Linked DNA regions of Homo sapiens: region 1 is linked to region 2. Evidence: promoter capture Hi-C in human tissues and cell types (Jung and others, 2019). All regions are on one chromosome and are shown on one strand. The core of a region is centred on a gene start or on the middle of the fragment in contact, and the rest is flanking DNA. Distances in the headings are between cores, read along the strand shown. Region 1 overlaps SEPTIN8 (septin 8). Region 2 holds the start of HSPA4 (heat shock protein family A (Hsp70) member 4).

Region 1 (7,220 bases), core at 4,592-7,091, 290 kb after region 2:
CCACCCCGCAGCTTGACCTTTCTTCCCCAGTGGGCTCATGTCTTGCTTTATTTCTCTCTTGGCAGAATGCAGAGCCAGAGCCCCGGAGCCTCTCCCTGGGCGGCCATGTGGGTTTCGACAGCCTCCCCGACCAGCTGGTCAGCAAGTCGGTCACTCAGGGCTTCAGCTTCAACATCCTCTGTGTGGGTGAGTGTCAGGGCCTGGCCTCAGACAGAGGGTGGGTGAGAACCTCCTGGGAGAGGGGGTGCTTCTGGCCCCCTGTTGAGCTGCAAGGGGGCTTCCCAGGCAGAGTGAAACTTTGGGGGTGTCAGGACGAGGATTTGGTTGGTGTCTCTGCCAGAGTCAAGGATAGAGTTAGAGCCAGGGCCTGACACAGCATTGTCATGAAGAGTAAACTGGATCGGGCACATGAAAGTGCTTTGTAAACTGTGGGTGTTTATCACAGAGATTTAGGTTCATTTATTCATTTGTTTGTTCATTTAAAAAACATGTACTCATTTACTGCTTCCCACCCTGTGTCAAGGACGTTATGGTAAACAGCTCTGCCCCTCATCACCATATCCTATGGTAAGTGCTCCAGCACGCATGTGAACAAATAACAGCCCCAAGCAGAGAGGCTCTCGGAGGTTCCCTGGGACTCCCAGAAGGACACAAAGTGCTCTTCTGGTCCCTCTGCAGGTGTCCTTCGGGAAGCAGCCCATCCTGAGTTCCCCCAGCTAAAGCCATGTGGAGCTAGGGCTGTCCGGGGCGCATGGGTTGAGCCACTGGTGGCTTTAGACCCTGGCCCTCTTGGTCCCATGACCACCCTGGTCCCAGGAGGGGTGTTGTGTAGAGCAGGTTATGTGTGAGGTGATTGGGTCTGCAGTGGTGTCTACACAGCTGCCTGGCTCTGTCTCTTCCCTGCTCCCTGAGGAAATACATCACATATCACACACAGCTATGTCTTCTGTCCAAGTTCACCTTTTGGCTCTTCCTTCCACAGGTTATTTCTGAGGCCACAGGAAAAGATAGTTCCTGGGGAATGGGGGTGATGAGGGATGGGGTGGGCGGCCTGCCCCTTTCTCTTATCCAGGGGCCATGGATGCCTGAGCCCTGCCTGGCCTAGCCACCAGTCAAGGACAGCCCATTTCCAGCCTATGACACCCACTTCTTCCCCTCCTGTCCTCACTGCCCAGGGGAGACCGGCATTGGCAAATCCACACTGATGAACACACTCTTCAACACGACCTTCGAGACTGAGGAAGCCAGTCACCATGAGGCATGCGTGCGCCTGCGGCCCCAGACCTATGACCTCCAGGAGAGCAACGTGCAGCTCAAGCTGACCATTGTGGATGCCGTGGGCTTTGGGGATCAGATCAATAAGGATGAGAGGCAAGAGGCGGGAAGGGCGGCCCCACCCAGCCTCCTCCCACCCCACCTACATTGGCCCCTATAACAGTAGCCCAGCCCTCACACTGCAGGGGGCCAGGGAGGGCCTCTTGGGGAATATCTGAGGCTCTGTGGTCACCAACAGACCAGTTACTCCTTTAGGTGTCTGGAGAAGGGGTCAGCTGCCTGTATCCAGTCAGGGATCTCAGGCAGAAGCTGTTCCCAGAAAGAAAAGGCCAGGGGGCAGCCTGGCTTGGCCCCGAGCCCTGAGCCCCCCAAGCCCCAAGCCCCTGATCTCAGCTGGCAGCCTCCTGGGTGATGGAGCTGTCTGTAGTTACAGGCCCATAGTTGACTACATCGATGCGCAGTTTGAAAATTATCTGCAGGAGGAGCTGAAGATCCGCCGCTCGCTCTTCGACTACCATGACACAAGGATCCACGTTTGCCTCTACTTCATCACGCCCACAGGGCACTCCCTGAAGTCTCTAGATCTAGTGACCATGAAGAAACTAGACAGCAAGGTATCCCTGTCCCCACCTGCTGTCACAGGCTCCATAGTCTTCTGCTGCGATGCGATGTGGTGGCTGCCTCATGCCTGAACACCATGGTCCTCAGGGACCTGGTCGGGGGCTTGTGGGTGGCCCCCCATTGGCTCGGTCCTCTCTCTGTCTTGCGTCTGTTCCTCCTGCTCCAGTGGCCCCCAATGCTCTGGGCTCATTCTCCAGAGTCCTGTGCCCTGGGTCTGACCCTGAGCCCCTTGCTTGCAGCTGAATCATTCTCATTGTCAGCCCCTCCCGCTCCCGATAGTGTTTGTTCCCCTTCGCTCCAGGGAACCTCCCTTCCCATCTCAGCCTCTTCTCTGCTCATTTTCTATCTCTCAATTCCTAATTTCTAGCTCCTCCTTTCACTTCCCCCTTCCTCCCTGACATAAATGTCCTTTGGTTCCTTCTGAGCCCATCAGGGAGAGGAGAGTTAAGGCCCAGAAATGGGATGTGAATGAGGGGTGGGTACTGTAGGGGTAGAGAAGGGAGGCAGCTTCATGGGAAGGACTGGAAGTGCTGTGCATCTTGAAGGGCATGTGACCCCACATCCCTTGTCAGCTCTCACGTGACTGCCCTCCCATCTCAGGAGTTCATTTTTATTGTAAAAAACGGGATAGCCTGGGCCTGGGAGATTTTGGGATCTTCTTATGGCTACTGCTGATGGGTCCTTTTACCTGCTTAGTGGGGAGCATAGCCCCCCCACCACTCCTTCTGTTAGGCCCCAGGCCAATTAGGACCTTCAAAGGATTCTGGGTCAAAGCTGGGTATGCCTAGGGGGACCAGTTTTGGGGCTGGATGGTGATTTGGGGGAACCAGGGCTGTAAGAAGCACTGCAGCCAATTGTTGAAACTCATCAGAATGGCCACAGGTGGCTGGGTTTGCACTATGGCTGCCCGTGGGAGTGGCTCCATCTCTCTGGCCTCCTTCCCCCTGCCCAGGGATATGGCCTGGGCATGTCTATCCATATCCTGGGCATGGCATGGGAACCACCGCTCAAAAGAGCCAACCAGCCTGCTGTCCCCTCCCCTGATCCTGGCAGGTGAACATTATTCCCATCATCGCCAAGGCTGACACCATCTCCAAGAGCGAGCTCCACAAGTTCAAGATCAAGATCATGGGCGAGTTGGTCAGCAACGGGGTCCAGATCTACCAGTTCCCCACGGATGATGAGGCTGTTGCAGAGATTAACGCAGTCATGAATGTGAGCGTTGGGTGAGGGCCTCAGGGCCCTGGGGCCAGAGGGCGAGGAGCCGGCACAGATCTGACACAGCCCCAGGAGACTCTTGTTCCCCAGGATTCCAGCCTTAGCTTCTCCAGGACAGAAGGGTGGGCATCTGGAGCTGGCCAGTCCTACATCTGTGGGCAGGGGACAGGAAGAATCTGATAGTGGGCCTACACTGGGGACCCCAGGTTTGGGTGTCATAAGATCTGGACTCATGGAGGAGCCTGGAAATGGAAGCAGTTGAGCAGGCTTAAGGGTTTGGGAACCTGGAAGGGAGCCAGGCTCACAGGTCCTTTCAGGAAGCTCTAATGGCCCCTGGGAGGCCCGAGTGCTGAAAGAACAGCCTGGAGAATCAGGAGCACCAGGGAGGGGGTTGAGGGTTCAGCCCACTCCCCTGTTTGGAGTTCTGGGACATTTCTCCAGAAGAGAGCCAGGAAGTAAGCATCTGGCCCTGGAGCCTTTGTTCAGGTCTGGCTGCCCCTCCCTAGGACCCAGGGGCAGGGAGGGAGAGTCTGCCATTAGTCTGTGTCAGCTCAGGGCTTACGCATACCCGGGCCCCTTTCCAGGCACATCTGCCCTTTGCCGTGGTGGGCAGCACCGAGGAGGTGAAGGTGGGGAACAAGCTGGTCCGAGCACGGCAGTACCCCTGGGGAGTGGTGCAGGGTGAGTGTGGACAGGAAATGCATCCTGGGGGTAGAACTGAGTTCCCTGGCCTGCCCTGCTGCCTGTAGTACCCTGTGCTGTTTCCTCCTCATGCCCACCTGCGTGCCTACCCTGACTCTGGAGTGTGCCCGCCTGCATGCCTGCCTGATACCCCACCGGCCCTCTGCTTTCAGTGGAGAATGAGAATCACTGCGACTTCGTGAAGCTGCGGGAGATGTTGATCCGGGTGAACATGGAAGACCTCCGCGAGCAGACCCACAGCCGGCACTACGAGCTCTACCGGCGCTGCAAGTTGGAGGAGATGGGCTTTCAGGACAGCGATGGTGACAGCCAGCCCTTCAGGTGACAGCCTGAGCCAGAGTGAGCCTGTCTTCACAGCTGTGGCCAGACACACCACCCTGGCATCTGTTCCCTGAGGGACCCCACATCCTCTTACCCCTCGTGCCCACATGATTCTACTTCTCTGGCTCTGCCCTGCCCTATCCCATTCCGTCATAATCCCATCCTTGGCCTCTTTTCTCTGGGTCTCCACAGCCTACAAGAGACATACGAGGCCAAGAGGAAGGAGTTCCTAAGTGAGCTGCAGAGGAAGGAGGAAGAGATGAGGCAGATGTTTGTCAACAAAGTGAAGGAGACAGAGCTGGAGCTGAAGGAGAAGGAAAGGGAGGTATGTGCCAGGCTGGGGGCTGGGATGGGGAAGCTGAGGGAGGGAAGGCCTGGCTGAGGGTAGAGGTGGGGGTGCCTTCCTGGCCCAGGCTCAAGCCCTCCTCTTGCTCCCCGCATCTTCTGCCCCCTTTCTGATGCCAGCTCCATGAGAAGTTTGAGCACCTGAAGCGGGTCCACCAGGAGGAGAAGCGCAAGGTGGAGGAAAAGCGCCGGGAACTGGAGGAGGAGACCAACGCCTTCAATCGCCGGAAGGCTGCGGTGGAGGCCCTGCAGTCGCAGGCCTTGCACGCCACCTCGCAGCAGCCCCTGAGGAAGGACAAGGACAAGAAGAAGTAGGTGGCAGGCTGCGCCTGCGCTGGCTCCTCTTGCTCCTGTGGGCTCTTGCTTTCGTTCTTGTCCCTCACCTCCCTTCTCGCTCTCCTGCTCGCCCTCTCTTACCCCTTTCCTGTTTGGTTTTCCCTCATCTTCAGTGGCTCTCCCCCCAGCTTTCTTGGTTGCCTTTTTCTTTCACTAGTGATCCAGTGTCTCGCCGTCTGGATTGCTCTGATACTCATGCAGTCTCACTTGCACAGGCAATCTTGTGCTCCCCCTCCCTCTCCCTTCTCCCTTTTTCTCTCCTTCTCTTCCCCCTTCTTCCTCTTCCTCCAACTTTCTTGCTCACCCATTCGCTCTCCCATAGCCCCCTTGGCAGCTGTGGCCCTGTTGCAGCGTGGTGAAGGTGGGGCTGCACGGGTGAGGAGCAGCGTGGAGAGGGCGAAGCTGCAGGGCTCTGGGAATGCTGGGAATGGTCTTTCAGGCCAGGGGCGGGACAGGACCTGGGAATGTCAGCATCTCCAGCCAGATTCCAAAAGCCGTGGTGGTTTCTGCTTGGACACCTGTGGCGCATCCCTCCTCAGTCTGTGGGGCAGTGGTGTGGAGCCCGTATTGGCTGGCAGGTGGTGATGGAGAACTGCGGGCACTCGCGCCAGCCAACACTGGCCTCCTGGAGACTGGTCACCACACAGCTGTTCTGAAGGGCCCGCAGGGCTTAAGGGAGGAAAGCGGCTTCCCACAGGGGCTCTGTGGGTTCTTTTGGGGAGAAGAGCTGCCCCTCAAGTAGAGGCTGGAGTTGTTCCTGCAGAGTGGAGAGAGGAGAGAAAGACTGGATGGCAGGGAGGCCTTTCCCAGCACCAGGAGTGCAGTCAACGGAGTAGTCAGGTGGGGACAACTATGAGTCACTTCTCCCTGGCGATCTTCATAGCCTGTTTCCACACCCTTAGCTGGAGTCCAGATGTCCTGGCTTCTGGGGCTCACCCTCGCCCACCCACCTCATTCACAGCCATGCTATGTCACACTGTGGGGATCCCATCCATCCCTGCTTCTCCCTGCCCCGGCCTATCTTGGGTACCATCCTTCTCTTGCCAACCTAGGAACTAAGCAGGTGAACCCAACCTGGCCGTCATTCTCGGGATCCATTTCCTCCTGGGATATTTGGGGATGTGTATGCCCAGGCCCTTCCTTCCTTGGTGGCAATGGAGCCTAGCCATTAGGGCCAGCGGGAGTCTGTGACCCAGGTACTGGCACCCAAAGTGACTTTGCCCTGCTTCCTGCCATCTTGTTAAAGAAAAGGTAGCCAGGATTCCCTAGGAAATAAGCTGTGGAGAAACCACTCAGCAACTGCAGACAGGGGTCTGTGGCCAGTTCAGGGTCTGAGGGCCAGTGAAGGTGGGTGCAGGCAGGCTGAAAGGACACCAGCACAGCCCTCGGGGTGGGGGCTTGTCACTGGTGTCTGGTCTCCCTGCTTTTCCCATGTGGCCTGGGCTCCATGATACGTTCTCCAGGCCTGGGCCTGGAAAACAGGTCTTTCCTGTTCTCTGGACCTGCTAGAAAGCTTCAGTCAGTTTGGTCCCTGGGAGAGAAAACGCTCTTCCCATGACGGCTCTGTGGAGGCCAGGAATGGGGTAGGTGGGTTGACTGGGAGTACTCCTTCCTGCCGCCCTGGTCAAGGGACTAGTGTGAGTCGGGAGTGCATTTTTGGAATGGGGGCAGGGGTGTTTTTCATGACCATTTATTTGAGTGGTTTTGATTGGTTATGCATACTCTTTAAATTTGAATCCAAATTTTTTGCAAAATTACTTCCCAATCAGATCTTGACCCTTAGCCTGGGACACCACAAACTGAGGTGAATTCTCTGCTTTGCTCGTCACAAATGCCAAACTGACTGCCCTTTCACGGTGTCCATCTTGCTGTCTTTTGCTTCTGTTTGATTTGGTCTGCATATCTTTTAATGTGTCTGTTTTTGTTTTGTTTGTTTTATTTTTATTTTTCAGTTAACGCACGCACAGACTTACATGTCAAGAGTGGACTTTAGACTTTCATGTGTTAAGTTGCTTGAGTTACACCTTGTGACCCTTCTCCCATAACATGGTGTGAGGACGGACTGGGAGCCGGTACAGACTCCAGTGTTTACAGCCTTGCTTTCCTCCCACCGACCCTGGCCCCAGGCTGCCCCGGGCCTGGCGGGCCACCCCTCTCTATGCAAACACGTAAAAGCCATGAATGCTGGAATCCAAAACTGACGAGGTTTATTTTTTTCAGAGCCAGTGGCTGGTCTTCCATTTACAGTGTCACTATTCCCTGACGGAGCTGTTATGTGCCGCTCTAGCGAAGGCCCCAGCCGGGATGCTAGGCCTAATTGTTCAGCGTGGAGATGGCAACTCACGTGGTGCCCTAGGTGCAGCTGCGTGGTCTGGTATACATGCTGCAAAATTCACCCAGTT
Region 2 (7,824 bases), core at 3,546-6,045:
TTAATCTGTTATATTTGTGTAAAGAATTCTGGCAATATTACTGAAACTTTAAGTATATACAGTATATCCCTTACCCTAGCAAATTCACCTCTGGAAATCTATACAATAAAAATAAAAGCATTAACATTACAACATAAATATGTAAGGCTACTTATTGAAGAACTATTTGTAACAGCAAAAAGTTAGAAATAACCTGTTTGAAGAAAACGTGTTAGAGCCATAATAAAGAATTTTACAGGCCGGGCGCGGTGGCTCACGCCTGTATTCCCAGCACTTTGGGAGGTCAAGGCGGGCGGATCACTTGAGACCAGGAGTTTGAGACCATCCTGGCCAACATGGCGAAACCACGTCTACCTAAAAATACAAAAATTAGCCGCATGTATGCACATGACCGCAACAATGCACTCCAGCCTGGGTGACAGAGCCAGACTCCGTGTCAAAAAATAATCTTCCCACTGCACCTAGGTAAAAATCATTATTATTATTTACAAGGCTCTGCCTAATTCCTCAGATTCATCTCACAGCATTCTCTCAAGCAGCTGAAAGAGTCGTGGCTGCTCTTCAATGTATCAAGGATGCAGCTCTTCTTGCTCAGGTCTTTCCCACTTGCTGTTCCTTCTGCCTGGAACAACTCTTCCTCAAACCTACTGTGACCTCCAAGGTAAAATCCTACTCATCCTCAGGTCTCAGATGGTACTTCTTTCAAAGCACCTTCTACCCAACTTATTTTTGAGACAGAGTCTCGCTCTGTCACCTAGGTTGGAGTGCAGTGCATGATCTCGGTTCACTGCAACCTCCACCTACCAGGTTCAAGCGATTCTTCTGCCTCAGCCTCCAGAGTAGCTGGGACCACAGGCGCCCGCCACCACACCCAGCTAATTTTTGTATTTTTAGTAGAGACAGGGTTCCAGCATGTTGGCCAGGCTGGTTGCGAACTCCTGACCTCAAGCGATCCTCCTACCTCAGCCTCCCAGAGTGCTGGGATTACAGGCATGAGCTATCGTGCCAGGTCCTTCCATCCAATTTAAATTAGACCCGCTTATTCTATACTCTCACTGTATTCTGTACTTTTCCACCTTGCCCTTTACCACAGTTAGTAATTACTACATATTTTTGTTTAGTATTTGGTTTAATCCACCAGCCATGTCCATAATGGCATGACCTTATTTGTTCACCACAGTACCTCCAGTGCTTAGAAAAATGGCTACCACATCAGAGGCACTCAACATCTGATAAAATGAAGGAAGCCTAAATTGGGTGGAAAATCAAGGGTCTCTTCTGGATGAGACTCCACTGGCTCCTCAAAAACCTAATCCAGATTGTTACACCCATATCTGAAACGAGGTACTTCCACCATCATAAACCCTCTAAGACTTGCATCTCATTTCCACTCTCATGTTAAAACAAACCCACAACATGCAGTCTTTTTTACATATGAGCTCCAAATCCATTCCTCCATAACCGCTACCAAAAAAAAAAAAAAAAAAAAAAAAAAAAAAATCAACCTTCCTGCTACCATTTTCTATTTAGCCCAAGACTCCAAAACAGAGTAATCAAAGTGAATCAAAATCATACAGTTCAGAAATCACTTGAAATGTATGGCATGCCTGTAAGTTAATGAAAACTATGAAGGAAAATATAAAGAAAACATGTAAGGAAAATTATTTAAATGGAATTTTCTTATCACAATTCCGTGGTGTATGGGGTCATATATATCACAATGTCTTTGAGGCAAATTTTTTATCTGCAACAACTCAGTTTCAAATAGAATTCATGGTATAATTGTTGTAGCTATTGTCTTTCTAAAAGAAAAACAGGAGCATGTGATAATAATCTAAAAGAAAGGATAGGAACACTGTTCTTCCCCATACTTGGGATTCTCTTCCTGTGCGCCCTTTGGAACTAAAGCGTGTTCAATCACAGGGCAGGAAAGGACCAAAACACTAAATACATTAACTCAGCGCTTTAGCCTTTTCAGTTCCTTAGGGGAGACATTTTATAGACCAAGAAAACACGGATACAAAGATATTCTCAAATACTAAAATGCTTAAAAACAAACTTTAATGCTTAAAAAAAAACTTCAGGGCACAATACACTTCCCTGGAGATGCCAAGTTAGACTACCCATTGTTAAAAAGTACAAATAGGGAAAATAAACTGCTAAAGGGCACAGGGCTTTGGGGGAGTGATAAAAATGTTCTAAAATTGATTACAGTAATGGTTGCACTGTTTTGTGACTACACTAAAAACGATCACTTCATCTGGTTAAATTGTATAGTATATGAATTAAACCTTAATAAAGCTGTGCCAGGTGCGGTGGCTCACTCCTGTAAACCCAGCACTTTGGAAAGCCGAGGCAGGCAGATCACTTGAGGTCAAGAGTTCGAGCCCACCCTGGCCAACATGGTGAAACCCTGTCTCTACTAAAAAAGACAAAAATTAGCCAGGCGTGGTGGCGCACACCTGTAATCCCAGCTACTCGGGAGGCTGACGCAGGAGAATCGCTTGAACCCAGGAGGCGGAGGCTGCAGTGAGCCGAGATTACGCCACTGCACTCCAGCGTAGGGAACAGAGTAAGACTCCTTTTCTCAAAATAAATAAATAAATAAATAAACCTTAATAGGGCTGTTAACAAGACTAAACTCAGCAAAGGGACAGCAAACTACCGTTTTGGCTTCTGGGATGAGTTTTCAGGGGAAGCACCTGGGTTAGGAGGTGGGGGGTGCGGAAATTTGACAAGTGGAAAGGAAATGTGAGACTTCTGAACAATCTAGTTTCGCTGAAACCTGCTGAAGAAATGTGACAAAAATTGAGGGTGAAAATAATGGACCTTAGAATTGAGCCCCTGGGGCCGGGCACCGTGACTCACGCCTGTAATCCTAGCACTTTGGGAGGCCGAGGCGGGAGGATCACTTGAGGTCAGGAGTTCGAGACCAGCCTGGGCAACTCGACAACACCCCGTCTCTACTAAAAATACAAAATTTAGCCGGGCATGGTAGCACGCGCCTGTAATCCCAGCTCCTCAGGAGACTGAGGCAGGAGAATCGCATGAACCCCAGAGGCCGAGGTTGCAATGAGCCGAGAGCATGCCACTGCACTCCAGCCTGGGGCGACAGAGCGAGACTCCATCTCAATCAATCAATAACAAGTGAGCCCCTGGGCAGGGCACGGTGGTTCATGCCTGTAAGCCCAGTACTCCAGAAGGCCGAGGCTGGAGGACTGCTTGAGTCCAGAAGTTCGAGACCATCCTGAGTGACATAGTGAAACCCGATTTCTACTAAAAATAAATAAAATTAGCCAAGCATGGTGGCGCACGCCTGCAACGCCAGCTACTCAGGAGGCTGAGGTGGGAGAATCACCTGAGCCAGGAGCCAGGGAGGTCGAGGCTGCAGTGAACCAAGATCGCACCACTGCACTCCAGCCTGGGCAGCCAGAGTGAGACCCTGTCTGTCTCAAAAAAGAAAAAAAAAAAAAAAAAAAGAAGAGAGACCCTGAATGGCAAATAATACAGAACTTCTTACAAGATTTTGTCTAAGAACACGACAACGGATTAAAATGTATCTACAAGTATTCAAAAGGCAGACACTGTAACCAGTGAAAGACCTGAGTGACCCACCATTTTTTAGAACTGTGTCTATGCTGGTCCCAAAACTTACTATGGGTTCTAGAAGTCAAGGCGGGCCCTTGAGCCACTAACAATTGTGGCCAACACACTGGTTAGAATGCATTATCGTTAAAGTGCAACCCTATTGAGGGGTTAACGCGCACAAAACAGAGAGTGACCCAATATAGCACAATATCCCGAAATAATGTGGAAAACAAAAGCGATTGCAAAGTTATCATAAGAGCACCGATTTTATTAAATTCCTATCCGTGCCAACCCAATCTCAAGACCCCGAGTCCATCCGGAACCCGTGCCTGAGGCTGCTCCAGCTCGCTCTCTTCCGGGCGCTGCCCCGCCCCCACTCACGTGGGACGCTGACCGCTCCACGGTCTCGCGGCTGGCAAGCCCCAGAACCCGTTCGATTCAACTATTATTAAGCGCCTGCTGTGTGCAAAGTTCTGAGCTTTCTGTTGGACTCAAAAGACTCAGTACGACCTGGGCCTGGTCTCTGCCCTCAAGAAAAGGACCGCGATCCGTTTACATCCTAGGCCTGCAGTCCTTCCAGTTCCTACCCGTGCCCTCCGCTGGTCCGAGTACCGGCCAGAAGCCTTTCTTCGGCCGACGGGCCACCGGGGAAAAGGCCCTCGCGCTTAGCACACACCCACGCTCATAGTGGGCCGCGGCCCCTAGTGTCCTAATACCTACTGGGGGTCCCTGACCTACCGGGACCTCGGCTCGGAACGGAGGCGACTCCTCGGCCCGCGTTCCCCAAGCAGCGAGGGTCCCAGACTGGAACAAGCATTATCTCCTAACCCCAGTGCACGCGGCAGGCCCGGCCCACACTTACGGCGTGCAGCGGTCGCTATACTCATTAGCGATAGTCTCGATGCCGCCGGCGCGGGCCACAGCGACGTAGCAGCTCTGGAAGCCCAGGTCTATGCCCACCACCGACATGGCGCCGGCTACTGCTCGGGCTCGGGCCCGGGTCCGGCCACCGAGACAGGACACGGACCCCCGGCGGGGCTAGCGAGTGGAAAGCAGGCCTCTTGGGCCGAGGCTACTGAGGGGCTTGCGGTGTCCACGCGAGCGCCTAAGTCCTTCCAGTGGGTACTGCAACCGAGAGCGCTGCTCAGGCCGGCTCCGGCTCAGTGGCCGCAGAGGAGGCGCCGGTAGCGGGGGCGGAGAAGATCTCGAAAGATCTCGTTGCGACGAGAGCGGAGCCGCAGCACCAGAGCTACGAAAGAACGGGATGTTCTCGCGATATCCCGGCTCAGGCGCTTTTCCCCTTGAGGCCCCGCCCCCAGTACGTCTGAATACGTCACGTCCTGGCTCGAGAACCTGGGAAAGGACTGGGTGGCTGAAAGATGGCTGGAAAGCGCATTTAGCCAACCGAGCCTGCGCATGGAACCTGCGGCGCTGCACAGCTGCATAGAGATGTGGAGCACCTCCCTTTACCGTAGAAAGTAGGCGAGCCAGCTCGAGGCACTATACTGAGGAAGCGCTGCGGCCTACTTCCGCCGTTTTTCTTAACATCAAAGAAACTTCCGGTAGTGGGGTGTCTTGCATTCCACCGTGTCGGTGCCCCAGAATGAGACGCAAGCTGATCTGCAGATCCCGCAGGGTGCCTTCTGCTCTTTTCGGGGCAGGTTGGCCGGTAGGGGAGAAGGCCGCCATTGGAACGCGGCCTTTATGTCGGGTTCTCTCAAGAGTCTAAGATCGCACCCTCACCAGCGGAGGGAAGGAGCCCACTCCCAGCCACACCGCTTTGTTTTCTTTCGCTTAGCCTTGTTGCGCCGTTCTCTAAGCCACTCATGTCCTTAGATCAGATTGAGGGGCCCGCAGGATTTAAGCCTTTAATCCACAGCACATTCCAAGCACCTACCCGGTGGTAGGCCCTAACAAGGAACACAGGCAAGTGACACGCTGCCTGGCCTGAAAGGTCCGCTCAGACCTTTACATGAAGTTAATAAATGTTAAGCTTCAGGGCCCCTCGCTTGTATGGCCTCCTGGGAGAATAGATAGTTGCTGAGTTGTGGAGAGGGGAAGCCAGCTTGAGATTAGGAAGCAAATCTATGTAAGCATTTCTAATAAATTACCCAGAGAGATCTAAGGAGAATCTGAATCTCCAAGTCTCTAGTAATGTGTTGTGATTTGTCGTTTTAATTATTTGTTTTGTGTATTTGTAGGGCCCCCCAATGGTATATAAGTTTCACCTCTGCAAAACCTGGATCATCCCCATCATGAGGGTGGCTAAACAAGTAAAGGTGACCCCAGTACAGAATGGCGAGTGCTATATGCACAGAATGGTGGAGACTAGGACAACTTCCCAGAAAAGGAAAAGGCTGTGTTCAAGTTTGGAAAACTAGCAATAGAGACCATAGTTTAAGGACTAAAAAGAAATTCTCCGTTGCTGGAGGGTACATCATGAGTTGAAGGTCTCAAGGCTAGAGTACCTGCCCTTCAGCCATTTTAAAAGTGAATGAGCAAAGAAGAAATTACATTGCCCTGGTATGCCCTTCCCTTTAAATACCTGCATTTCCTGCCACCTCCGGAGGTACTTCACTCTATAGGAGCAACCCCAAACCCGGGTTGATTACCATTAAAACTTGCAAATGGCCACACTGTTCTCACATTTTGCCTAACTAAAACCTGTTAATTCTTCAAAGACAAGTACCAGGTGCTACCTGTAAAAGGGTACTGGGAATAAAAAGAGTAGAGGCAGCCAGGAACAGCCTTTGGAAAAACGAGAGCAGGGACATATTTGTACATTGTATACCCATGTTCATAGTAGTTTATTCACGGTAGCTAAAAGGAGGAAACAATCCACATGTCCATTGACAGATGAATGAGTTTTCTAAATTTAGTGTATACGCGTAACAGTACATTATACAGCTTTGAAAAGACAAAGGAATGAAAGTCTGATAAATGCTACAGCATGAATGAACCTTGAAAATACGCTAAGTGGAAAGCCAAACAAATCAAAATTAATTTTTTTTAATTTTTAATTTTATATTCAAAATTTAATATGATTCCACTTGTATCAGGCACCTACAATAAACTACATAAAGACAGAAAAGCGGTTTCACAAGTAGAGTGAAATGGAGAGTTAAGGGATACAGAGTTTCAGTTTGGGAAGATGAGAAAGTTCTGGAGATAGATGCTGGTGGTAGTTGCATAACAATGTGCATGATCAGTGACAGATTTGTACATTTAAAAATGATGAAAATGGTAAATTTTATGTATATTTCACCACAATTTTTTAAAGTTTTTTTAAGTTAGGTTGACCTTGACCTTCCTTCCTCTGTTTTTCTCCTACCTAGGGGCAATATCAATAATACCAAGCACACTGTTGACCTTAATTATGACAGAGTCCTGTCTCCATCTGTTTATCTCAGTTGTTAATCACTGAGCAAACAACCCGAGCTGCCTAAGCTAAAGTGTCCAGTGGACCTAAAAGATCACTGTCTGTGTTACTGCCTGTTTCTGCCTTCCTTCTATTGGAAGACCTCCCTAGGTCTTAGCTAAGTTGATGAAAATTACACCCATATCTTATTATGTTCCAACTTCATACCTCAACTGCCTTGTTTGCCTTGGTACTGCTTTCAGTTTAAAATACCACCAGCCCTATCAATCTTTTTAATGATTTGTCCTTCTCAAAATAAAACATAACTACCATCAGTCACAGAGAGTACTCATCCTCCTATAAATAGTTTCCTGGATCATCAAACTTATAGCTTAAGAGATTATTCTGGGATATTTAAATAAATGAAGTCAGGAAAAGGTTATTTTAGAATCCTGAAGAATCTAACGTGGCAAGTTTCCAAGTATCACAGTTGCGAACCAACGAAGTGTCCAGAATATTTAATGTTGGAGGCACTGTGTTCGGAGAACAAATTCTTTCCATTTGGCAGAGTATCTTAGGTATTTAAGTATTTTAAAAGCAGGAAGTTGTTAAATGCCACTCTCAAATACAACGATTAAATTTAGTCCTAAGCAATCACAGAAGTGTTTGTTTTTAAATATACAGTGTTCATAGGCTGCCCAACAAAAGACAAAAGGTTCTCCATCAGCTGGGGACTCATATTTCTCCCTGACAAGTGTCCAGTGGAATCCTGCCCTACGCTCTGGAGCAGCTTCTGCAATTTTTTGCTTCACAAGGAAACTACCTGCTCAGATAATGGTGATTTTCTGACTTCCCTGATCTTACAGTGAGTGGAGCAA

The links. The method cuts DNA at HindIII sites, captures the fragments that hold promoters and counts their contacts. A contact is called where the count stands out against the background at its distance.
Region 1: a contact is called between a fragment that was not itself captured here and the fragment with the promoter of HSPA4 in region 2, in 1 of the 25 tissues and cell types used here (ovary).

The regions. Positions count from the first base shown.
Region 1 is chr5:132,758,375-132,765,594 of GRCh38, reverse strand. It overlaps SEPTIN8 (septin 8), which reads left to right. Exons shown (of 10, transcript NM_001098811.2): 2 at 66-186; 3 at 1,176-1,371; 4 at 1,703-1,889; 5 at 2,950-3,111; 6 at 3,699-3,795; 7 at 3,969-4,137; 8 at 4,330-4,462; 9 at 4,603-4,793. Among named protein-coding and RNA genes, the nearest start is that of CCNI2, 15 kb to the right of the region's middle. The HindIII fragment of the contact is 7,294 bases long and covers 2,195-7,220 here.
Region 2 is chr5:133,048,984-133,056,807 of GRCh38, reverse strand. HSPA4 (heat shock protein family A (Hsp70) member 4) reads right to left here and starts at 4,795. Exons shown (of 19, transcript NM_002154.4): 1 at 4,451-4,795. The coding sequence starts at 4,557. RefSeq lists enhancers at 2,619-3,581, 4,820-4,999, 5,190-5,239, 5,310-5,359, 4,546-5,508. The HindIII fragment of the contact is 13,363 bases long and covers 1-7,824 here.